Linked DNA regions of Homo sapiens: region 2 is linked to region 1. The links are contacts of gene promoters, found by promoter capture Hi-C in blood cells and fetal thymus (Javierre and others, 2016). All regions are on one chromosome and are shown on one strand. Each heading gives the region's core, a stretch centred on a gene start or on the middle of the fragment in contact. The rest is flanking DNA. Distances are from core to core; before and after follow the strand shown.

Region 1 (7,295 bases), core at 2,050-4,549:
ATACCTGATATCAGATTGTTTTATTGTTGCTTCCTCCTAAAACAGAAAACGGAAGTGGGGTTAAGGGTACTGAGTAACGTGTTATTATCTCTCCTGGTTCACGTGAATTGATGCATCTGAATCTTACGTCACTTTCTAAACTGAGCATCATAAAAACCTAACCAGGAAAAACAGAGTGACATATTGACCTTTTATGTTGAATGCAGCTCACAATTGGAGTTGGGGCTGTCACCACCTGAAGTGTGTCAACCACAGAAAGCCATCCTGAAACCAGAGAGCTGCTGGTTATTTTCAGAAGACAACCTGGGTCTCGCTCCTGGGGCAACTGGGTAGGATCGTCATGAGCTCAAAGAGAAGGTTTCCCATGAACACCCTGGATATCAGGGCCACTGGTGGTCTAACTTCTCATCCACCCACACAGCCCTGACAGCCACTCAGTGCCAGGCCTGTAACAGACAGACATTAAACTGAGAGCCCAGATGGGGGCGAGGAGCACAGGAGACACATTTAACAAGCTGTAAGGCCTGCCTGCAGCAAAGGGCTTCAACAACACATCACAGTTCAACTGTGGCCGGGGAAGGAAGGGATGGTTAATTTGATCCAGCAGCAAATCAGGTCAGCTCCACTCCAGAAGATTCCAAATCCATCCTCCACTCCCATAATGTCCCCTCTCTCCTGGGCAACTGCAGCAGGCCCCACTCTGTCCCCTGCTACTCTTCTCACTCCACTACAACCCATTTCCCACCCAGCAGCGGACCAATGTGTGACACACACAACACTAACCATGTCACCCTGCTCACTACCCCACAGTAGCTTCATACTGCATTCAGAATGAAGCTAGTGGTCCTCCATGGCCTACGAGGCCAGCCCTGCAGATCTGGACCATCACCTCTTAGGCCTTGTCTCTCACCAACCCTCTTTAGCCCCTGGCCTTCTTTCAGCTCCTGACACCCCACAGGCTGCATTTTGTCTTAAGCCTTTGCTCGTCCTCCAGATCTGTCCCTTCTCAAAAGTCAACTGCTCAGAGTGGCTTTCCCCAACCACTCAATCTCAATCCTCCTGACTCCACCACATTGTCACTTTATTTTCTCCATGGCACTTGGGTTGTAAGCAATCATTTAGTCCAGTGCTACTCAAAGCATGGCCCACATGTGAGCAGCACCTGGAGCTTGTTAGAAATACAGATTCTTTGGGAGGCCAAGACAGGTGGATCACCTGAGGTCGGGAGTTCGAGACCAGCCTGGCTAACATGGTGAAACCCCGTCTCTACTAAAAATACAAAATTAGCTGCGCGTGGTGGTGCACATCTGTAATCCCAGCTACTCAGAAGGCTGATGCACGAGAATCACTTGAACCTGGGAGGTGGAGGTTGCAGTGAGCTGGCATCACGCCACTGCACTCCAGCCCGGGCAACAGAGTGAGACTCCATCTCAAAAAAAAAAAAAAAAAGAAATACAGATTCTTAGCAGGGCACGGTGGCTCACGCCTGTAATCCCAACACTTTGGGAGGCCAAGGTGGGTAGATCACCTGAGGTCAGGAATTCAAAACCAGCCTGGCCAACATGGTGAAACCCTATCTCTACTAAAAATACAAATATCAGCCGGGCGTGGTGGTGGGCGCCTGTAATCCAAGCTATCTGGGAGGCTGAGGTGGGAGGATTGCTTGAACCCGGGAGGCAGAGGTTGCAGTGAGCCAAGATCGCACCACTGCACACTCCAGCCTGGGTGACAGAGTGAGACGGTCTCAAAAAAAAAAAAAAAAAACCAAGAATATGGCCAGGCACAGTGGCTCACGCTTGTAATCCCAGCACTTTGGGAGGCCGAGGTGGGCGGATCACCTGAGGTCAGGAGCTCGAGACCAGCCTGGCCAACATGGCGAAACCCCATCTCTACTAAAATTTAAAAAATTAGCGGGGCATGGTGGCGCGTGCCTGTAATCACAGCTACATGGGAGGCTGAGGCAGGAGAATCGCTTGAACCCAGGAGGCAGAGGTTGCAGTGAGCCGAGAGCGACCGCACTCCAGCCTGGGCAACAAAGCAAGACTCCGTCTAAAAATAAATAAATAAATAAATAAAGTAATAACAATGTCAGTGATGACTTCATGTTGAGCAGGGCATTCGTTCACAGCGGTATTGTCACTGTCCATCTCCACGCCCGCACTGGGTGACAGTACCATGCTCCACAGTGACTGCTTACCAGTGTCTGTAATTTGAGGGCAGAGAAGGGCCCATCTTTTTTTTTTTTTTTTTTTTTTTTTTTTTTGAGACAGAATCTCGCTCTGTCGCCCAGGCTGGAGTGCAGTGGCGCAATCTCGGCTCACTGCAAGCTCCGCCTCCCGGGTTCACGCCATTCTCCTGCCTCAGCCTCCCGAGTAGCTGGGACTACAGGCCCCCGCCACCATGCCCGGCTAATTTTTTTTTTTTTGTATTTTTAGTATAGACGGGGTTTCACCGTGTTAGCCAGGATGGTCTCGATCTCCTGACCTCGTGATCCTCCCGCCTCGGCCTCCCAAAGTGCTGGGATTACAGGCGTGAGCCACCGTGCCCGGCCGGGGCCCATCTTTTTGTACCGCCACAACCCGGCACCATAATGTGCTCATCAAACGTTTCCTGAGCAAAGAACCTGCTTTGCAAATGCCAAAAGGGCTAACAATGATAAGATACTTTCACTTCCAGAATTAATCTCCTCTAATGCCCCAGCTACTCTATGGAAAAGGATGACTACCCCGCCCTGCCCTCTTAGCTGATAGGGAATCAGAGAGGGGAAATGTCTTGGTCCAGTCATCTAGAGGGAAGACACAAGGCTCTTGTCTCCTGCCCTGAGTTCTCTCCACAGGTACATTGCGCCCTGCAAAAGATGCCAACAGAAACAACACAGATTGCAAACGAATGGGAAACGTGTAGGAACAATGAAAGTCTGGGATAACAAATAATAAACATAATGATGCAATTGCAACAGTCGGACAGCACGAGGTAAGTCATAGGAACTCAGCGGACGGAGAAAGGCACGGTGGTTAGCGCGGGCTTCCTGGAGGACGCGGATCCGGCAAGCAGCATCTGAACCGCATTTTCGCAGCCGCGTAGACACTGGCGCCCACACTCTCTCACCCATGCGCACTCGCCAGCCCGCGCGCAGCCACACCCTCGGTGCCCGGGAGGCGGCGGCCTGGGGGACAGGACCTCACCTGTGGGCTCAGAGCGCCGAGGGACTCGGAGGAGCGCCCTGCAGGGATGCCTCGAGCCGCGCCCTCGCCCCGCCTCCAGCCCCTCTCCGGCGCTCGCAGGAGTACGCAGCCGACTGCCAGGCGCACCGGCCCGCCCCGCCCCGCGCTGCACTCTACTTCCAGGGCGGCGCCCTGGCAACCCAGGACGCGACCGCCGGCGCTGCGACTATTTCCGGAGTCAGACTTGCCTGGGGCTCCTTTGGGCTCCATACCTCGGGCGGCCGCTATGCCCAGGGCTTGGATCCTAGGAAATGCCAGGCCGTCCACCCTCTCGGGGCCCAGAAAGGAGATTGAGAAGGGTCTGGAGCACGGGATTAAGTCTAAAAAGAAAGGTAGAGCGGTGTGATGATTAGGTCCGAATCCTGGGTTCGGTCTCAATCCGCTGTTTAGCCTCTCCTACCCCTTCTACCTCGGCTTCCTTATCTGAAGAAATGGTGATGTTGCGCCACTGCACTCCAGCCTGGGCGATAGAGCGAGACTCCATCTCAAATAATAATAATAATAATAACATAAAAATAAAATAATTTTTTTTAAAAAGTGTTTATCTGGGCCAGACTCGGTGGCTCACGCCTGTAATCCCAGCACTTTGGGAGGCAGAGGCGGGTGGGTCGCGAGGTCAGGAGATCGAGACCATCCTGGCTAGGCTGAGGCAAGAGAATCGCTTGAACCCGGGAGACAGAGGTTGCAGTGAGCCAAGATCGTGCCACTGCACTCAAGCCTGGGCGACAGAACAAGACTCCGCCTCAAAAAAAAAAAAAAAAGACGTTTATTATTCTCGTTATAGACCTGTGTTACCTCGAATTCTCTATACAATTATTCATTTTTAATTTCATCAATTTAAAGAGTTATGCAAACTTGTGCAACTTGTAAGTGACAGAGTCTGGCTTTGAACCCAGGACACCTGACCATTCATGCTGCTGCCTCTCAGGAGGGGTGGTGGTGTGCTTTCTTAGTGATGATTGGAGCTTTGCTAACATCACTTCCTATAATCTCCCACACAACCGCCTCCCAGGCCCAGAGCACATTCAGCGCATCATCATTTACTTTTGGCACCATCTAGTGGAACCAACACTTATCTGGAGTCCAAATTGCCAATTCATACCCTTCAGCTGCTGTCTGGTTGTGAGGCCTTGAGAAGTCCCAAGGCTTCCGACTACAGTGTTCTCACCTTAAACCCAGGAGATGAGTGAAGGCTTGCAAGACGTGGTTAGGGCCTGGCATAGTAAAGTGTTCAATAAACATTGTAGCCTTCCAGCATGTTGCCTCATGCCTGCAATCCCTGTACTTTGGGAGGCCAAGATGGGAGGATCACTTGAGGTCAGGAGTTCCAGACCAGCCTGGCCAATATAGCAAGACCCCATTTCTAAAAAAAAAAGAAAAAATATTTTTAATCAGCCGGGTATGGGGGCGTAGCCAGCAGTCCTACTCAGTTACTCAGGAGGCTGAGGTGGATCACTTGAGCCTAGGAGATTGAGGCTGCAGTGAGCTATGATCCCGCCACTACACTACAGCCTGGCCAACAGAACAAGACTCTGTCTCTTAGAGAAAAAAAGTTAAAAAAAACAACAACAAAAAAAGAATTTTAAGGCAGGGCATGGTGCCTTACGCCTGTAATCCCAGCACTTTGGGAGGCCGAGGCGGGTGGATCACCTAAGGTCAGCAGTTTGAGACCAGCCTGGCCAACATGGTGAAACCCCGTCTTTACTAAAAATACAAAAATTTGCCGGGCATGGTGGTGCGCACTTGTAATCCCAGCTACTTGGGAGGCTGAGGCAGGAGAATTGTTTGAGCCTGGGAGACAGAGGTTACAGTGAGCCGAGATCGCACTATTGCACTCCAGCCTGGGCAACAGGGCGAGACTCCGTCTTAAAAAAAAAAAAAGAACTTTAAGATGGCGACAGCAGCATTAAACTAACTTCAGGGCTTGTCTGAGCACGGGGTCCTATGGTTCTGTACAGGTCACAGGCCCATGAGGCTGGCCTTACCCTAAGAAGCTGGCCACAGCTCCCCTCAATGAATCCCCACAAGAACTCTGCTGAGTTAATGGTGTTATCACCACTTTTTAAAAAATAGTGGTAAATTGGCCGGGCGCAGTGGCTCACGCCTGTAATCTTAGCACTTTGGGAGGCCGAGGTGGGCGGATCATGAGGTCAAGAGATCGAGACCATTCTGGCCAACATGATGGAAACCCGTCTCTACTAAAAATACAAAAATTAGCCGGGCATGATGGCACACGCCTGTAGTCCCAGCTACTCAGGGAGCTGAGGCGGGAGAATCGCTTGAACCTGGGAGGCAGAGGTTGCAGTGAGCTGAGATCACACCACTGCACTCCAGCCTAGCGACAGAGCGAGACTCTGTCTAAAAACAAAAAAAAGAAAAAGTGGTAAAATATGTATAACATAAAACTTAACCATCTTAGCCATTTTTAAATGTACAGTTCAGTGATGTTAAATATATTCACGTTGTGCAATCAGTCTCCAGAACTTTATCCTCTTGCTAAACTAAAACTCTTTACCCATTGAACACAATTCCCCATCCTTCCTTCCCCAGCCCCTGGTAACTGCCTTTCTACTTTCTGTCTTAATGAATTAGACTCCCTAAGTACCTCATCTAAGTGGAATCTGGGCCAGGCACAGTGGCTCATGCCTGTAATCCCAGCATTTTGGGAGCCTGAGGCAGGAGGATTGCCTGAGCCCAGGAGTTTGAGACCAGCCTGGGCAACATAGGGCGACCTCGTCTCTGCAAAAAAAAAAAAAAAGAAGAAGAAGAAGAAAGAAAGAGAAGGAAGGAAGGGAGGGAGGGAGGGAAGAAAGGGTTCGCTGCTGCTCTCTGAGCTTCGCCGTGCTATCAATGGATGACAAGAAGAACGAAGACACCGGAAAGTCGCTAAGAAAGACAAAGATTCAGTGAACAAATCTGGGGGCAGGGCCCAAAAGAAGAAGTGGTTCAAAGGCAAAGTCCGGGACAAGCTCAATAACTGAGTCGTGTTTGACAAACCTACCTATGACAAACTCTGTAAGGAACTTCCTAACCATAAACTTATAAGCCCTGCTGTGGTCTCTGAGAAACTGAAGATTCGAGGCTTCCTGGCCAGGGCAGCCCTTCAGGAGAACCTTAGTAAAGGACTTAACAAACTGGTTTCAAAGCACAGAGCTCAAGTAATTTACATCAGAAATACCAAGGGTGGAGATGTTATAGCTGCTGGTGATGATACATGAACAGGTCCAACCAACTGTACATTTGCAAAAATAAAACTTTATTAAATCAAAAAAAGAGGCCAGGCGCGGTGGCTCATGCCTATAATCCCACACTTTGGGAGGCCGAGGTGGGTGGATCACCTGAGCTCAGGAGTTCGAGACCAGCCTGGCCAACATGGCGAAACCCCGTCTCTACTAAAAATACAAAACTTAGCAGGGCATGGTGGCATGTGCCTGTAGTCCCAGCCACTAGGGGGGCTGAGGCAGGAGGATCGCTTGAACCCAGGAGGCGGAGGTTGCAGTGAGCCAAGATCATGCCACTGCACTCCAGCCTGGGCGACAGAGTGAGACTCCATCTCCAAAAAAAAAAAAAAAAAGAAAGAAAAAGAAGAAAGGAAGAAAGTAGAATCATACAGTATTTGTTATTTATTTATTTATTTATTTTTAGAGAGGACGTCTTGCTCTGTGGCCCATGCTGGGTGCAGTGGCAGGATCATAGCTCACTGTAACCTTGAGCTCTGGACCTCAAGTGATCCTCCTTCCTCAGCCTCTAGAGCAATTAGGACTACAGGCATGTGCCACCACACTCAGCTAATTTTTGTCTTTTTGTGACTGGCTTATTTCATGTAGCATAATGCCCTCAGGTTCATTCCTGTTGTAGTATGGATTTCCTTTTTTTTTTTTTTTAAGGCTGAAAACATTTCATTGTATGTTTTTAAGGCATTTAAAAAAATCCAGGGCGGGGGGAGGGGGGAGGGATAGCATTAGGAGATATACCTAATGTAAATGACGATTTAATGGGTGCAGCACACCAACATGGCACATGTATACGTATGTAACAAACCTGCACGTTGTGCACATGTACCCTAAAACT
Region 2 (7,295 bases), core at 2,856-5,355, 190 kb before region 1:
AAGAGATTCTCCTGCCTCAGCCTCCCGAGTAGCTGGGATTACAGGTGCCCGCCACCACGCCTGGCTAAATTTTTGTATTTTTAGTAGAGACGGGGTTTCACCATGTTGGCCAGGCTGGCTGATCTCGAACTCCTGACCTCAGGTGATCCATTCGCCTCGGCCTCCCAAAGTGCAGGGATTACAGGCGTGAGCCACCGCGCCCGGCCATGCCTTTCCTTTATTTAAAGCCACTGAACTCTATAAAAACTCAAATTTCCACATCTTAGAAGTCTTAATTTACTTAAAGGTGGCCAGAGAAGGGGGGACCTTCTGAAGTGAGCAGATGCTTCTCCCAGGTGTTGGGCACCCACCCACACCATGCCAACGCTTCTCCTGGCATGGCTCCTATCAGCCCTGCTTGGCCCCTGGCTAGCCCTGCACTGCCTTCCTCTGCAGGACTGTGTTCATTCACTCCCAGAAAGAGCCTGGCTCTGAGCACAAGCTTGAGAACACTGTGGAATGAGGACTGTCCCCTCAGCAGAATGGAAGCCCATCCTGCAGGAGGAAGGAGAGGAGGAAGCAGGAGCCTGCTCTGGACCAGTATGGCAGGAGGGGCTGAGTCGCCTCTCCCTACTCACTGTTCTCAGTCCCCGAGGCTCAGGAAGGAAGCCCTAATCCAGGCTGGCATTTCTATTCAGGGGGTAGGGTGGGGTGGCGTGAGGCTGGAGGGAGGGAGAGCCACAACGGAGCCGGGGCAGAAATCGAGAAGATCCATGGCTGGTCTTCAAGGTGGTCACAGGGACAGTGACCAAGTGCGCTGAGTCATGACAGAGGTGGGCTGAGGGGAGGGCAGGCTGTGAGAACCCAGAGGGGGACACGTGACTCTGGGGCTTGGAGACAACAGAGAACAGCCCCGGAAGTTGGACCTCTCTGTGCCTTCGTGTCTACAAAATGAGCACATTCCTGTCCTGTCCACAACGTTACAGCCAGACCCACAAGGTGAGGGTGGTAAGGGTGCTCTGTAAACCTCAAGCTCTGACTGACAGCTTGATCCTGGGAGAGGGGCTGCAGCAGGTGGAAACGAAATGACGACACTGCCACCGACCAAGGGAGCTGACCTATCCTAGGCCCCTCCTCTGCCACGTGCCTGCTCCACAGCCTGGGCACATACCCTGCCCTAAGGACTGTGCTAAGCCCACACAAACAACCCATGTCAGCATCACGGGAAAGGACAGGCAGCTGGACTAGACCTGGCTTGCTTGGGACCTGGCTCCCCTGATTGGCTGAGGACAGCTGGGGCTGAGGACAGCTGGTCAGCACAGGAAAGCCTGCCCCAAAACACACCTTGAGAAACCCACACTGCTCTGCTTCTGTGCCGGAAAGGCTGTAATCAGTCAAGTTCCCCTTCCCTGCTGGGAAGTGTGTTCTAAGCATGGCCCCTGTCCACACAACAGTGGCACTAATAAAGCTACAGAATCTTCTGAGCTTTTCGGTGGGGACAGAAGGGGGTGAAACCTCTGCCATACAACACCTGTAATTATTCCCTTAAAATGTAAACTCAGAAAGACTGCCAGGTGTTGCCAGCTAGTCTTATCTGACCTGCTACATGGCCAAGTTTAAAAATAAACAGCTCTCAGTGTTAGAAACTAAGGTGCCAAGCGGCAAGGCCTTCCACGTGATAGGAACTTACCCGAGTTCTGAGTTAACTCGGCAAGTGCAAGTGTGTCCTATGGATGACAAGGGCTATAGTCCTGTGTCCCCAAGGAAAGTGGACAAAAGCTCATGGAGCCTGTGCCTTCTGGTGATGGGCGCTAATGCTCCCCATAAAAATCACACCCCGCTCTGGAACTGGGAAATGCACTCTTGCCCCAATCTTAAAAGACAGAAAACTGGCATAGAGAGGGTCACAACGTGCCCAGAGCCCCCGGCTGGGGTGTAGCTGCCTCCAGGCCACAGGACCTGTGCCGGGGCCCCATACCTTTCTCCACGAGCTGCCTCCAGCGCCGGGCCCACTCAGTGAGCTGCTGCGCATACGCCTTCTCGATGCGCGCCCGCTCATGCAGGCAGTTCATGAGGTCGCTGCACAGGCGGTGGCCATCGTCGATCCGCTTCACAGTCCGCTTGTAGTTCCCGACCTAGGAGAGAGAACCAGCTGGGAGGCAGGGGGCTTGGGGCAGCCTGTCCTTGGCTGTGGCACAAATGGCCTCCATGCCAACCAGGCCCTGATGCGCCCCTGGGGTCATGTTTACCACACCCCTCTCCAAGAGTTTGAAAGGCACTCCGTGTAGTTAGATAATGAGCCTCTCTATTTTTATTATTAATAAGATCATACACATCAGTGAACGGGGGCTTCTCAATGTTCTTTAGGTTGGGTACCAAGTAGAAACTGGGCTGTGGGTCAGGAAGGGAGGCTGACTGGCTCAGGAAGGGGTGGGGCTGAGGATGCCTAAACGGGCACCTCACGCAGACTGAGGGGCTGGGGCTGGCTTCCTGGAGTAGGTGACATCTAACCAAAGCCTTCTGCTTTGATGTCATCCATCATGTGCTGGGTTATTACTTCCCAATCATAGCTGTAAAAACTTTTCCACTTCCTGAGCACCTACCATGTGCCAGGCGACCTGCTAGGTGTTTTACACCTCCAAATACTGTCTCCCCTACCTAGTAGGAATAAGTGTCCCCATTTTACAGATGAGGAAACAAAGGCTTAGAGAAGTTACGTGGTTTGTCAAGATCCTGCAGCCACAGTGGCTAGGCTGGAGCTGAAGGCAATTGTTTTTTTTTTTGAGACACAGTCTCGCTGTCGTCAGGCTGGAGTGCAGTGGCACGATCTCGGCTCACTGCAACCTCCGCATCCCAGGTTCAAGTGATTCTTCTGCCTCAGCCTCCTCAGTAGCTGGGACTACAGGCACGCATGCCATCACACCCAGCTAGTTTTTGTATTTTTAGTGGAGACAGGGTTTCACCATGTTGGCCAGGATGGTCTCAATCTCCTGACCTTGTGATCCACCCACATCAGCCTCCCAAAGTGCTGGGATTACAGGCGTGAGGCACCGCGCCCAGCCCAAAGGCAGTTTTTCAAAGGGTTCCAAGTAGGACTGTCTTGATGGCAAAGCTTTGTCAGGGCTAAGCTGAGTTTTGACTGCCTTTTTTCGTATATGAAAAGAAAAACTAGTTCATCAAAGTTATAAGTAATAAAAGAGTAACTGAGGAAATGTTAATGGCTAATTTGGGGTGAAAACGAAAATGTTCGATATGTTTCATTCTTTTAGCTGCTGGCTTGAAAGGCTACAGTCGCTGATAACTTGAGCACCCAGAGGAAATATGACAGAAAAACGATCTCTTTTCAGCCTTTTTCTCCCAATGCCTTCAAAAATCTTAGTCAACCCCTTGTCAGTTTTACCTTTTCTAAAATCTCTTTGCCTGGCCCTGCACAGAGATGGGCAAGGGGAGGGAAGGGGGCTGCAGCACCTGGAGGAAGGGCTGTCCCTGAGGCTGAGCTACATGGGCTGAGATGACTCCACTCCTGTGAGAACCAGAATCCTGGTGAAAAGCAAAGACCCCTGGAAGGTGGTTAGCCTGGGCAGCCTTCTCCAGAGGCAGATGAGACTTCCGGCTCTACTCATTCCCTCCAAAGACCTCCCCCAGCAAGGCTGGCAGCTCGGCAGCTCGTCAAAACATGAGCTGAACCTGAGCATCCACTCCAAACTAGAGCAGCTCCTGTGAGGAAGTCGGAAGTGAGCATTTTCACAGCTCACTGGAAGTGACATTATGTGGTTGCTTCCCTTAAAATGAGGCCTTACTGTCATTTTGAAATTTACAGCAGGATGAAAAAAATACCCAACAAGCAACTCAGTATCGTTGAGCTGGTGGTAGGAGGAGCTGAGGTAACACGGCCCTAACTTAGCCTTGACAGTCGACATGAAGCCACAACCCAGAGCTGGTTTTCATCTGCCTATTACCAACAGTATTCAAATTGGTAATCACCATCAAATCATGTATTTTGGCTCTCTTGAAACCTGCTTATCTCTGTGATTTTCAGAACCACTGGTTAAAGGTTTAGGGAAAAGAAAAGGATATTTCTTAACAAGTCACATGTTGGTACCACCCATCGGCACACACAGGAGCTGCAAATACACATTTACATGACAACTCTTGAAATGTGGAAATCCGTGATGAATACAGGAAGAGTGTTTCCGTAAGTACACATTTCAGGTTTCCAAATAAGCTCCCAGTTGGTCCTAGAGGCTGCAGAGGAGCCTGTGCTGGTCCTGTGACCACTGCTGGGGACAAGAGGCAAGTTGGCTGAGCACAGAGCCAACGGGAGAAGGGCAGTATGCCAAACAGTTGGGACCGAGGCACCCCAGCAACATCGGCCCTGCTGTCCCTTTAATGAAACGGTTGTGTGGTGGCCGGTGAAGGCCATCACTGGAAGTCTCTATCGCCATAAACCACCAGGGACAGAGCAATGTGGCCTTTCCACTTCCCTGGGCAAAGCACTGCAGTCGTCCCAGGAGCAGAGCTACTGCTGGCTGCTTCTCTAGGTCGAGATGGAATCTACACACAGGCAAAACTGCCCACTACAGGGTACACTTAGATCTGAATGTGGACAAACATATACCACTGTCTACCACCTCCACAGCAAGGAACAGGACACTTCCATCTCTCATGAAGTGCCTTTGTGCCCCCTTGCAGCCCATCCCCTCCCCATACAGCCCCCAGCAACCACAGACATGATTTTTGCCCCTTTTCCAGGATGGCAAGGATATATGGAATACACAGTATGCAGCCTGGCTTTTGAGACTGGCTTCTGTCACCCACCATAATGTTTCTGAGACTGATCCATGTTGCTATCTACGTCAGAAGGTCACTCTTTCTTACTGCTAAGTAGTATTCGATTGTGTAGTTATGCCACTATCAGAAGTTCACTCTTTCTTACTGCTAAGTAGTATTCGACTGTGTAGGTATACCACTATCAGAAGTTCACTCTTTCTTACTGCTAAGTAGTATTCGATTGGGTAGTTATACCACTCTTTGGTTTATCCATATTCTTCCTGCTGAAGGTTGCTTGGGTCATTTTCAGTTTGGGGGAATTATGAATAAAGAAGCTATAACGTTCATCTATTGGTCTTTTGTGGGGACATAAGCTTCCATGACTCTTCGGTGAATACCTAGGAATGGAAATGTTAACTGTACGTTTAACAAAACTGCCGAACTGCTACCCAAAGTGACTGGACAGCTGTGCACTGCCATCAGCAACGTATGAGACTTCCCTGTCCTGCATGCTCCCAGCACTTAGTATTGCCAGGGTGTTTTGTTCTGTTTTGTTATTTTTAGCCATTCTACTTAGTGTAGCAATATTGCATTGTGATTTTAATTTGCATCTTTCTAAAGTCTAATAATACTGAAAATCTTTTCTTATGACTATTTGCCATCTGTATGCCTTCTTGAGTAAAGTTTGTTCCTTTTTTTTCTTTTTGAGACAGGGTCTTGCTTTGTTGCCCAGGCTAGAGTGCAGTGCCACAATCATGGCTCACTGTGGCCTTAACCTCCCAGGCTCAAGTGATCCTCCCACCTCAGCCTCCAGAGTAGCTGGAACTACAGGTACGCACCACCACACCTGGCTAATTTTTGTATTTTTTGCAGAGACAGGGTTTTGCCGTGTTGCCTAGGCTGGTCTTGAATTCCTGGGCTCAAGCGATCCTCCCACCTTGGCCTCCCAAAGTGTTGGGATTACATGTATAAGCCACAGCGCCTGGCCTGTTCCCTTTTTAATATATTTTTTAAAAAATCAAACGTATAATAATGACTAGTTTTTACAATGCAAGAAAATTAATTTTCAAATATTTGACAAATCGATCATACATTAAAATCAGCACATATATAGTTAACTATTTCTGCTCTATCAGTTTTGTAATTAAAAACCTCTCTTCTACTTCTTCAAAACATTAGGTTGTTTTGGGATAGCCAAATGGCAGAAAACTTTAGGTAGAAACTGAATATAAGCATGCTTTCTTCCAAACATATTAATTGCTTCATTCACAAAATCCTCATTTTTGAACCAGGTATGAAGCTATGTTCCTAACTTCCTCTAAATTCAGGCTCACTCCACTCAGAAACTAAGCTACCAAAGACAAATGCTCAGCATACATGTGCCTGGACATCCCTTCACTCCCCTGAGGGACTGCCTGGCAGACGGAGGGCCAAGCATGTACCTACTGAGGGACTCAGTGCTTGGGCACAGGGCACTGGAACTGGGGCACTAGGAGGAGGGGGTGAGAGGTATCCTGAACGCAATATCCAAAGGGCATCTTCAAGGACAGGTAGGAGGCTGGCCAGATTAAAGGTGAGGCCAGGAAAATAATTCCAGGCACAGGGAACAGCACTGGCAAAAGGAAGGTGTGTCCACATGGCAACCCTGGGGCCCTGAGAGAAGTCAGCTGGGAATGGAACACAGAACACAGGGAGCAAATGGCAATGAGGGAGGGCAGATGCTGAGAAACTGGGAAGGCTAGGCCTGCATCCTGAAGGGTGTCAGGCTTGGGGACTGGTGGGGCTCAGAAGGCTGGCGGGGGTGGGGACATCCTGGAAGGAAGAATTGAGAGCAGCCTCCAGAGAATGGGGCTGCTCAGTGGAACCCAGGGCATGCGAGCCAAAAAAGGGAGCTGCCCATCCTCCAGGTGGAGGATGCGGGGACAAAGGTCGTGGGAATCCCTGGCTCCCAGACAGGTTTCTCTGCATACAGCACCCCTGCCTTCTCCAGGCTGTGCCCACCTTGGGAAAGAGAACCTCCTTCCTTTTCTTTTTTTTTTTTTGAGACAGTTTCGCTCTTGTTGTCCAGGCTGGAGTGCAATGGTGCGATCTCGGCTCACCACAACCTCTGCCTCCTTGGTTCAAGCGATTCTCTTGCCTCAGCCTCACGAGTAGCTGGGATTACAGACATGCGCCACCACGCCCAGCTAATTTTGTATTTTTAGTAGAGACGGGTTTTCTGCATGTTGGTCAGGCTGGTCTCAAACTCCCGAACTCAGGTGATCTGCCCACCTCAGCCTCCCAAAGTGCTGGGATTACAGGCGTGAGCCACTGTGCCCGGCTGAGAACCTCCTTTCTAGGGTCCTCCGGAGGCCGCTCTCCTGCCTCCCAGGGATGGACCTTGGGGGCCACATCCCTCACAATCAAGCTCTGCCTCCAGGGAATCCACTCCCTTCCCCATGCCCTTCCCCGAGCCCAGGACTCGCCCTGCCGCCTGCCCTCCTCCAGGCTGCACTCACTCCCTCTCAGTGAGCCAGGCTTCTAATCGTTCCTCTGAGAACCCAATG

Evidence for each region. The method cuts DNA at HindIII sites, captures the fragments that hold promoters and counts their contacts. A CHiCAGO score of 5 or more calls a contact.
Region 2: a contact is called between a fragment that was not itself captured here and the fragment with the promoter of TTLL1 in region 1, in 1 of 17 cell types (M2 macrophages). The highest score is 5.1, in M2 macrophages.

The regions. Positions count from the first base shown.
Region 1 is chr22:43,086,092-43,093,386 of GRCh38, forward strand. TTLL1 (TTL family tubulin polyglutamylase complex subunit L1) reads right to left here and starts at 3,300. Exons shown (of 11, transcript NM_012263.5): 1 at 3,186-3,300. It also overlaps the pseudogene RPS25P10. RefSeq lists silencers at 3,068-3,407, 3,172-3,466, 4,215-4,274 and an enhancer at 3,172-3,466. The HindIII fragment of the contact is 9,359 bases long and covers 1-7,295 here.
Region 2 is chr22:42,891,500-42,898,794 of GRCh38, forward strand. PACSIN2 (protein kinase C and casein kinase substrate in neurons 2) reads right to left here. Exons shown (of 11, transcript NM_001184970.3): 3 at 1,958-2,114. Among named protein-coding and RNA genes, the nearest start is that of ARFGAP3, 38 kb to the left of the region's middle. RefSeq lists enhancers at 1,524-1,623, 6,063-6,839, 6,840-7,295. The HindIII fragment of the contact is 2,032 bases long and covers 3,090-5,121 here.